Linked DNA regions of Homo sapiens: region 1 is linked to region 2. The links are contacts of gene promoters, found by promoter capture Hi-C in human tissues and cell types (Jung and others, 2019). All regions are on one chromosome and are shown on one strand. Each heading gives the region's core, a stretch centred on a gene start or on the middle of the fragment in contact. The rest is flanking DNA. Distances are from core to core; before and after follow the strand shown. Region 1 has its middle 9.1 kb from the start of MAP2K4. Region 2 holds the start of ELAC2 (elaC ribonuclease Z 2).

Region 1 (4,575 bases), core at 365-2,864, 1.0 Mb before region 2:
GGCTCATTGCAACCTCCGCCTCCCAGATTCAAGCAATTCTCCTGCCTCAGCCTCTCAAGTAGCTGGGATTACAGGCGCCCGTCACCATGCTCGGCTAATTTTTGTATTCTTGGTAGAGACAAGGTTTCACCACGTTGGCCAGGCTGGTGTCGAACCCCTGACCTTAAGTGATCCACCCGCCTCAGCCTCCCAAAGTGCTGGAATTACAGGCGTGAGCCACCGCGCCTGGCCATTCCTGAGCTTTTAAATCATCCCTCCTTGCTCCTGCCTGCGTGAGACGTAAAAGAAACAACAAATACCCTAACTTTGCTTCTTGAAAAACCACTTAAAATACACCAAATGATCTATTAACATATATTCCTAGAATTCCAACATACAGATTTGTGAGATGGTAGAAAAAAGTGCCTAAAATATGGCTTATCTATGTAATATTAGCAGATGGTAGTTTAGAAAAGACTACAGGAACATCACCTTTTCCTTGACTGCACATGTGGCTTGGATATAACAGACCAAAACAGGGGTGAAAGCTTTATTGTGGTGCCTGTCGAGAATAGATTAGAATAGACAGTAATGGAGAGGACAGTTTCACAAGACTTTATTCTCAGGCTTAATTAGAACCAATAAAAACTTATAAGTAAAAAAAAAAAGTACTATCAATGAATTTCACTGTATAAATATAGTATGAAATGTTTACTAAATGAACAGGATTTTTCATTTATATATCTTGTAATTCTTCGCTATTCTAGTTGAATCTGAGCCAAGAATAGAAACTCAGTACATTTATTTTCTGGTGACTTAAAGAGAAAAAAGGAAAAGTTTTGTGTAAGTAAAATAGAATGTATTTACAAGAACAGACTGCTTTTCTTTAAAACTGCTTCCAAAACATTTGTTTCTGAACTTTTTTTTTTTTTTCCAGATGGAGTCTTGCTCTCTCGCCAGTCTGGAGTGCAGTGGCGCAATCTTGGCTCACTGCAACCTCTGTCTCCCGGGTTCAAGAGATTCTCCTGCCTCAGCCTCCCAAGTAGCTGGGACTACAGGCGCCCGTCACCACGCCCAGCTAATTTTTTTGTATTTTTAGTAGAAACGGGGTTTCAGCATGTTGGCCAGGATGGTCTCGATCTCTTGACCTCGTGATCCACCCACCTCACCCTCCCAAAGTGCTGGGATTACAGGCGTGAGCCACTGCGCCCCGCCGGTCTTTTATTTTTTAAACACTTACTATGCCATGAATTCATAGGGAATATGTTCCAGCACCTCAGGCTTCTTCCTACTGGTTCTCACGAAGTGTGCTTTTCTGGGCAGTGCAGGCTGGCACTTCAGTTGAACCCCAGGTACTTTTCTCTTTGTCTTCTTTAGTTTTCTGATAATTTTCCTTCACTTGTTTCAGGAAGCTATCTTGGCTCTTCACGTGCTTAACATGCCCAATACACACATTAATTCTCTTGGCAAGAATCTTGCCCTTAACTTGTTTGTTTACAACAAATGCCAACAGCATGCTGGGGAACATTGTAGACTCTTCCAGTTTAGCCATGGTGACACCTGTGGGGCATTCCTTTTTGAACAGTACTCATTCCCTTGATGTCTATAATATCACCTTTCTTCTAGATTCGCCTGTGCACGGCCAAAGGAACAACTCCATGTTTTCTAAAACTCCTGGAGAACATATATCGGGTGCCTCTCCTCTTTCACTTTGTGTTCATCATTTTGGTGAATTACTGGAAGATGGCGGTTCCCCTGAATCATATTTTGAATGAAACTTTAAAAGAATATAAATGTATGGTAATAAATATTTGCTGTTTCATAAGAATGTTTATTTAACAACAAAAGAAAGGACATCCATCATCCTGATTTAGTTCCATCATTTTTATTATTATTTTTTTTTGAGACAGAATCTCATTCTGTCGCCTAGGCTGGAGTGCAGTGGTGCGATCTCAGCTCACTGCAACCTCTGACTTCCGGGTTCAAGCGATTCTCTTGCCTCAGCCTCCCAAGTAGTTGGGGCTACAGGCACCCGCCACCACACCCAGGTAATTTTTGTGTTTTTAGTAGAGATGGGGTTTCACCATGTTGACCAAGATGGTCTCGATCTCCTGACCTCATGATCTGCCCACCTCAGCCTCCCAACATGCTAGGATTACAGGTGTGAGCCACCATGCCCAGCCAAATGTTCTTAATTTTTTTTTTTTTTTTTTTTTTTGAGACGGAGTCTAGTTCTGTCGCCCAGGCTGGAGTGCAGTGGCACGATCTTGGCTCACTTCCACCTCTGCCTCCCAAGTTCAAGTGATTCTCCTGCCTCAGCCTCCTGAGTAGCTGGGATTACAGGCATGCACCACCACATCCAGCTAATTTTTGTATTTTTAGTAGAGATGGGATTTCACCACATTGGCCAGGGTGGTCTTGAACTCCTGACCTCGTGATCTGCCCACCTCAGCCTCCCAAAGTGCTGGGATTACAAGTGTGAGCCACTGCGCCCAGCAGTTACATCTTAATTCATTAATTTTCATTAGCTATTATGTTCATGACATTTACAGTCCATAAGCTACCAAAGAATATATAATGTAAAGTGTCCCTCTCAATCCTGTCCACCAATCACCCAGTTTCTCTCTTGAGACACCAAAATTTTCATTATTTTCAGTATCTTTCCAAATAAATTTAAAACAAGTAACTAAATATTACATATACATTTCTCCTTCTTTAAAACAAATAGTAGCAAACCATGGTGTTCTTCATCTGGCTTTTTAAAAGATAACAATATATATTGATAGTCATCCCATATCACTACACAAAGAGCTTCCTCTTCTTACAGCTGGGTAGTATTCGCTCCATGTTTATTCAGTTGCCTGTTAAAGGACATTTAAGTTGATTCTAATATTTTGCTACAAAAATACTATATTCAGTAACCTTGGACATATATCATTTTGCAAACGTGAGAATATCTGTAAGAATACACGTCTAGAGGTATAATTTCTGGGTTAAAGGGTATATACATTTTTAATTTTGATAGCCATTATTAACTTGTCCCCCATTGAGCTGTGCCAATGTACATTCCCACCAGCTATGTAGAAGAATGCCAGTTGCCCACACTTTCATCAATATATTGTGTTATTAAACTTCATCTGCTAGATAACTGAGAAATTATATCTCAATGTGGTTTTAATTTACATCTTTTTTTTTAGACAAATCTTCCTCTGTGGCCCAGACTGGAGTGCAATGGCATGATCACAGCTCACTGCAGCTTTGACGTCCTGGGCTCAAGTGATCCTCCTGCCTTGGTCTCCCAAAGTGTTGGGATTATAGGTGTGAGTCAATGTGCCTGTCCGCATCTTCGCATTTTTAAAGAGACATTTATATTCCTTTTCTGTGATCCACTTGTTAATTTTCTTGGCCTAATTTTCTATTAGGTTGTTGTTCTTTTTCATGTTGATTTGTAGGAATTTTTTTTTTTTTTTGAGACAGAGTCTTGATCTGTCACCAGGCTGGAGTGCAGTGGCGCGATCTCGGCTCACTGCAACCTCCGCCTCCTGGATTCAAGTGATTCTCCTGCCTCAGCCTCCCAAGTAGCTGGGACTACAGGCATGTGCCACCATGCCCGGCTAATTTTTGTGTTTTTAGTAGAAATGGGGTTTCACCGTGTTAGCTGGGAGGGTCTCCATCTCTTGACATCGTGATCCACCCACCTGCGCCTCCCAAAGTGCTGGGATTACAGGCGTGAGCCACTGTGCCTGGCCAATTTATAGGAAATTTTTATTAGTGAAATTAATCCTTTATCCATGTTATAAATTGAAACATTTTCCCAGTTAGCAGTTTGTCTTTTGACTTTGCTTATTGTGTTTTTTGCTAAGAGAATTTTTTAGAAATTTCATCTTTTGACTTGTGTCGTTCTTAGAAATGATGGGCTTATCTTATATCTTCATGGTTTCTTATTTTTTCTTTAATACTAAGATTTTTGATCCATTTGGAACTCATCTAGATTTAAAGTTTGAGCTATGGATTCAAGTTCACTTTTTAGCAAATTTCTACCTTTATTTGAGATCTCACCTTTAATTATACTATATTCTCAAAAGTATTTGAGTCTATTTCTAGTCTTCCTAATTAGTTTTGTCACCTAATTTAGGTTTTTTCATTCTTATGACATTTCTCTCCTGCTCATTAACATTTTTTTGTTGGGTATTCTTTATTTTGCTATTAATTCCAAATGTCAGGTAACTTAATTCTTTTCAACATTCTAAAAACAGAGAATTTCCTATGTGTCTAACAATAATTTTTCAATTATTCTATATTGCTGATAAAGTGCTTCATCAACTACTAACAGAATTTAGTTGCTGATATCTGATGGTTAGAGTAAGACAACAAACCTGTATGGAACAATTTGGAAAAGAGTAAGGCTTTCTTGAGCTTTGATTGGTTGAATTTGATGTGCTGGGACCAAAAGTGACTGACAGATGGTCACGAGAGTTCATGTTTTGGTAACTCCTCTTGAAATGAACATATATTTCATTTTTAGTTTATAAGAAATATAATGTCGGCCAATGTCCTCTTCATTGGATATTGTAGATGAAATGCCTCAAAACATAA
Region 2 (4,983 bases), core at 947-3,446:
TCCTAAAAAGGATGCATAAAATCAGATCTCTCATCAATTTGACCTGTCGTCACTAACAGGAGGAGCACCCCGTACTAATCCAACTATTTATCTACATCTCCACCTTCCAGCTTTGGAAGTACAACCAGGGAAGATGTACAGAGCAGAAGTGATGCCAGCTAGAGGTGTAACAGACACCAAATATTCTTTAAATGCCTCTAGAATGGGCTGAGCTGTCACTAGGGTGAAGCAGCAAGGCACCCAGTGTGCAAAATGTAAGGAATCATGCAAGTGAAGGGCTGGCACCCTAAGTGCCTCACCCTAGTCTCAGCCCTGAGAAGGGAGACTGGTCTAACACTTCACTCCTTCCGGTCCATGCCACCAAGCCCACACAATTTGGCTGCAACACAATCCTGACCTTCCGGTTGATAGACATAAATGACAGGGTAATCTGGACAGTGGGTATGTGTGTGGCTGCCAATGTGCCAATGGCGTCTGCGGTAAACATATTAACTGTAATCACCACTGCTAGACTCTCCAGTTTACTGCCACAAATCTCTGTCCCCGCAACGCAAGAAACTAAGTGGATGGTAACACTTAAGAGGTGGTATCCATATTAAAATCTGTTCTCCTGAGTCACAGCTTTTAATGCTCTGTGCTGCTGCTGACTGGGCTGGTATAAAAAGAATTCCAGGCCAGGTGCGGTGGCTCATGCCTGTAATCCCAGCACTCTGGGAGGCCGAGACAGGAGGATCGCAGAAGTTTGAGACCAGCCTGGGCAACATAGCAAAACCCCGTCGCTACAAAACATACAAAAAAAATTAGCCAGGTGTGATGGGGCACACGTGTGGTCCCAGCTATTTGGGAGGCTGAGGTGAGGGGATCACCTGAGCCCAGAAGGCAAAGGTTGCAGTGAGCCAAGATCACGCCACTGACAAAAAAAAAAAAAAAAAAAAAAGTAGCTGCCCACCCCAGACTTGGAAAAATGGTAAAGCCGGTTAAAATCCCAGAGACTTCCCACCAGCCTCTGACACTGCAAAGAATATACTCACCACTTAAGCCCCCAACATTAGACCAGTGCATTCGTGTCAGGAATATGTTGTCCAGGCGAGCAACCTTTAACCTAAGAATGAAAAAACATTTAAACAGGATAACATGAACAGAACAAGGACCACTTTTGCTATAAAAAACAACTGGCCTCTCATTTCGGCTTTCAAGCCCCGTAATCAACTCCCCCTCCGAAAGCAAGAGACTGACTCACTTGTGCTCCTGCATGAGTCTCTGAACGCCTTCTCCACAGTTGAAGAGATACCTACAAGACAAACATTACACAAGACATTCAGAAGGTTTTATTCTGTAAACTCTCTGACACCAATTAGATGTTTTATTGTAGACTCTGGAAAAAAAAAAAAGAAAAAAAAATTAAAAGTCCACGTTGGACTACCGAGCCACATTTATGCTGGTGGGTTTTGAGCCCTCCTTAGCAGAGGTGGAGAGGAGTGGGGGCCTGTGTGTGTGGGTGCTAGGACAAAATGAGTCCTTTCTCCACCACCGGCTACACACCAGATCTGTCCACCCCACACGCTAACAACGACACACTGGCCTTGGGGTGCACGGAAGAGGGTGGAGCTCCGAAAGTGCTGACAGCCAGGCCGGGGCCCAAGGGTTGGGAAAAGGACGCTCAGACCCAGGCCTGAAGTTCTTCACAGATCCGCAGAAATCACATGGATGCAAAGAATCTCGGATTTCCCACCCACCATAACTCCACGAACCCCCGCAACAGTGAACCACATGTGTGAAGCAGGGAAGCCGAAGCCCTGGGAGGTGCCCCGATGCTCAGAGGCTGCGCCGCACTGAGGGCCCAGCGGGACGGGGCGTGGCTCGTTGACTGACCGGTTGAACTCGGAGAAGACGTAGAGCGCGGCGCCCGAGTCCCGGCTACCCGCTGCCACCACCTGCAGGTACACGGTGTTTGGGCCGCCGGAGCACCCCGACGGTCCGCGCTTCTCTCGCGTGCGCAGGTGCCGCAGCGGGTCCTTGCGCGGCCGCTCGCGGCGGGCGGGTGCCTGCGATATGGTGCGTCCCTGCGACATGGTGCGTCCGGCCGCGGACCGCAGCAGCGAGCAAAGCGCCCACATGCGCCCGTCTCCACCAAAACTGAGAAAGCCGCCGGTCACCTACGCCCGCGTTTCCCGTGCACCACCTAGCCGCTCCGCATGGCGGATCCAGCCAATCAGCGCGCCGTGCACCGAGCTTCCCGCCTACGCGAGGCTGCTCATCCAATAGAAAGGAGCTTTACCGCTCGGGACTTGTCAATTGACAGTGGCCATAGAGTAGAGGAATACTAGAGCGTCTCAAGCGGCCCCGCCCCTAGTTCTGTTCCGGTTTGCCGGCCGCAATTTTTTCCGGAAGCTGTTTTTCTCCTGGGGCGGGACTTCCGGAAGCACAGTGCCAGGAAAAGCCTTCCTGGGGAAGGCGGGACCTAGGAGTTTGGAGTTTCGCTAAAACGCTCCTGTTCTCACCAGATAAGAGCTGTGTCCTCCGGGCACGTCAGTCCCTCAGAGCTTGAGTTAGAGGTGGTTGTAGTGGTTGTGAGGATTAAATGTGAGGAAATCAATTGTATTGAGCATTAGCATAAGCGCTTTGCTAATTTTATTTCCATTGTAATTCGTATGCATACATGTTAGAACTTGATCATTTTTACGTGGTGTCCCGAGCTTGTAGTCCCAGCTACTTGGGAGGCTGAGGCAGGAGAATCGCTTAAGCGCGGAGGCGGAGGTTGCGGTGAGTCGAAATCGCGCCACTGCACTCCAGCCTGGGTGACACCTCGAGACCCTGTCTCAAAACAAAACAAAACAAAACAAAAATTGTAGTGTTTTTTGGAAAGAAAAGCAAGAATAGAGGACAAGCTCTAAAGCAAGAGTCTTGGCTCATTTGTTAGCTGCGTGATCTTGACCTCTCAGAGCCTCAGCTTTCTTATGTGTAAAATGTAATAACAGCAATAACAGTATCTCCTACTTCAGAATATAGAATTCAGTCACCTGATAATATATCAATAGACCTTTGAGTGGCACTGTCACAGAAGAGGCACCCAGTAAATGATAGAAAATTAATACAAAATGTTTCAACTCCTAGACAATATAGCTGACCAGGGACATCACAGAGGTAGATGTCCCAATACCAGCTTTTTGAAAAAAACACCCAGTCCCCTCTTATGTAGCTAATGAGGATTTCTCACTGAAAGGGATATCAGTTAAAGCCGCTAGAAATACAGGGAGCTCCCTTAAAAGAGGAAGATAATTTACCTGGAAGCTCCACTCAAATATGATTTTTTAAAGATAATTTACCTGGAAGCTCCACTGACATATGATTTTTTTAAATAAATACTGAAAGATGTCACTTTTATTCAGGAAGTAAGGGAGATTCAAGTCATGTAGATTCCTACTCGAAAATCTTGACACCTGACTTTCCAGGATCACATTTTCATATGGAGACCAGTTTCCTCTTGGTTTCTTCAGTTAAGTCAAAACTACACGTTCCTCTTTCCCCATATATTTTTGCTCATTAGTGTATTTCTTGAGCTGTTTTCATTCAAATATGAAATTTTTTATGGAAGATTATCACCCACGGTGTGAAAACGTTTTGTACTTGAAATAACCATCCCAGTGAGGGTCAGGAAAACACTTCAGATCTACTTTACACAGTTAGAGGGCGTTACAAACTGAAAAGATTATCATACCACCATCTCCATAAGTATTTGAAATAAAAATGATAGTTTTTAAAAGTTGCTTAAAGCCTGGGCACCGTGGCACATATCTGTAATCCCAGCACTTTGGGAGGCCAAGGCGGGAGAATAGCTTCAGGCTAGTAGTTCAAAACCTGCTCTGTGGCCAGGCATGGTGGCTTATGCCTGTAATCCCAGCACTTTGGGAGGCCGAGGCAGGTGGATCACCTGAGGTCAGGAGTTCGAGACCAGCCTGGCCAACATGATGAAACCCCGTCTCTACTAAAAACACAAAAATTAGCCGGGAGTGGTTGCATGGGCCTGTAATCCCAGCTACTGGGGAGGTTGAGGCAGGAGAATCACTTGAACCCCAGAGACAGAGGTTGCAGTGAGCCAAGATCACACCATTGCACTCCAGCCTGGGTGACAGAGGGAGATTCCATCTCAAAAACAAACAAACAAACCAGCTCTGGCAACAAAGCGAGACCTCATCTCTACCAAAAAATACTAAAAAATTTAAAAATAAGTAAAAATTAGCTGGACATGGTGGCACACACCTGTTGTCCCAGCTACTCTGAAGGCTGAGACAGGAGGATCACATGAACCCAGGGGTTTGAGGCTGCAGTGAGCTATGATCATACCACTTTACTCCAGCCTGGCTGACAGAGTGAGACACTCTCTACAAAAAAAAAAAAAAAAAAAAAAGAAAAAGAAAATTAATTCATTAAAACTACTTTTAAAAAGTGTAGTGCAATAAATAAAATACTGATTTTTTTCCTGTGATGACTGCTTTGATCCTTTTAAAAAATATATCAAATTTCACAAACAAAAATACATTGGTTCCTCTATTTTATTGGTGCCCTATGTGCATATCTATCTGTTGGGTAATCTCAAACTACTTATCTCAAAATTATAGGAGGAATCACTTTTGGTCATCGACTTATATAAAATTCTGAGGGCTGGATGCTATTTAGGTTGTTTCTAGGGCCCAGTGTACTTTCTGCACTTATGCTTTGGGTCATATTTTTATTCCTGGTATATGAAGACAATAGCTAGTACTTCTTCAATCTGAGGTTATACTGGAATGTAAATTTCATGAGCCTGGGATTTGTCTATCTGGTCCTCTGCTGTATCATTAGCTCCTAGGACAGAGTCTGGCTTGTGGCAGACAATAAATACTAGGAAATTAGAAGCAAGCCAGTAGCTTAAATGAGGTTTTCAGTTTACAACTAAGCAGGGCCTAAAATTGAATCAAGACAACAATGTATGTGTTTTCTGAA

Evidence for each region. The method cuts DNA at HindIII sites, captures the fragments that hold promoters and counts their contacts. A contact is called where the count stands out against the background at its distance.
Region 1: a fragment that was not itself captured here is called in contact with the fragment with the promoter of ELAC2 in region 2 in 1 of the 25 tissues and cell types used here (lymphoblastoid cells).

Annotation. Positions count from the first base shown.
Region 1 is chr17:12,009,522-12,014,096 of GRCh38, forward strand. It overlaps a transcript of ZNF18 not described here and the pseudogene RPL21P122. Among named protein-coding and RNA genes, the nearest start is that of MAP2K4, 9.1 kb to the right of the region's middle. The HindIII fragment of the contact is 4,053 bases long and covers 1-3,641 here.
Region 2 is chr17:13,015,831-13,020,813 of GRCh38, forward strand. It overlaps ELAC2 (elaC ribonuclease Z 2), which reads right to left and starts at 2,197. Exons shown (of 24, transcript NM_018127.7): 1 at 1,873-2,197; 2 at 1,241-1,291; 3 at 1,032-1,102; 4 at 1-2. The coding sequence starts at 2,117. RefSeq lists enhancers at 1,513-2,013, 1,525-1,634, 1,655-1,714 and a silencer at 2,235-2,314. The HindIII fragment of the contact is 16,662 bases long and covers 1-4,983 here.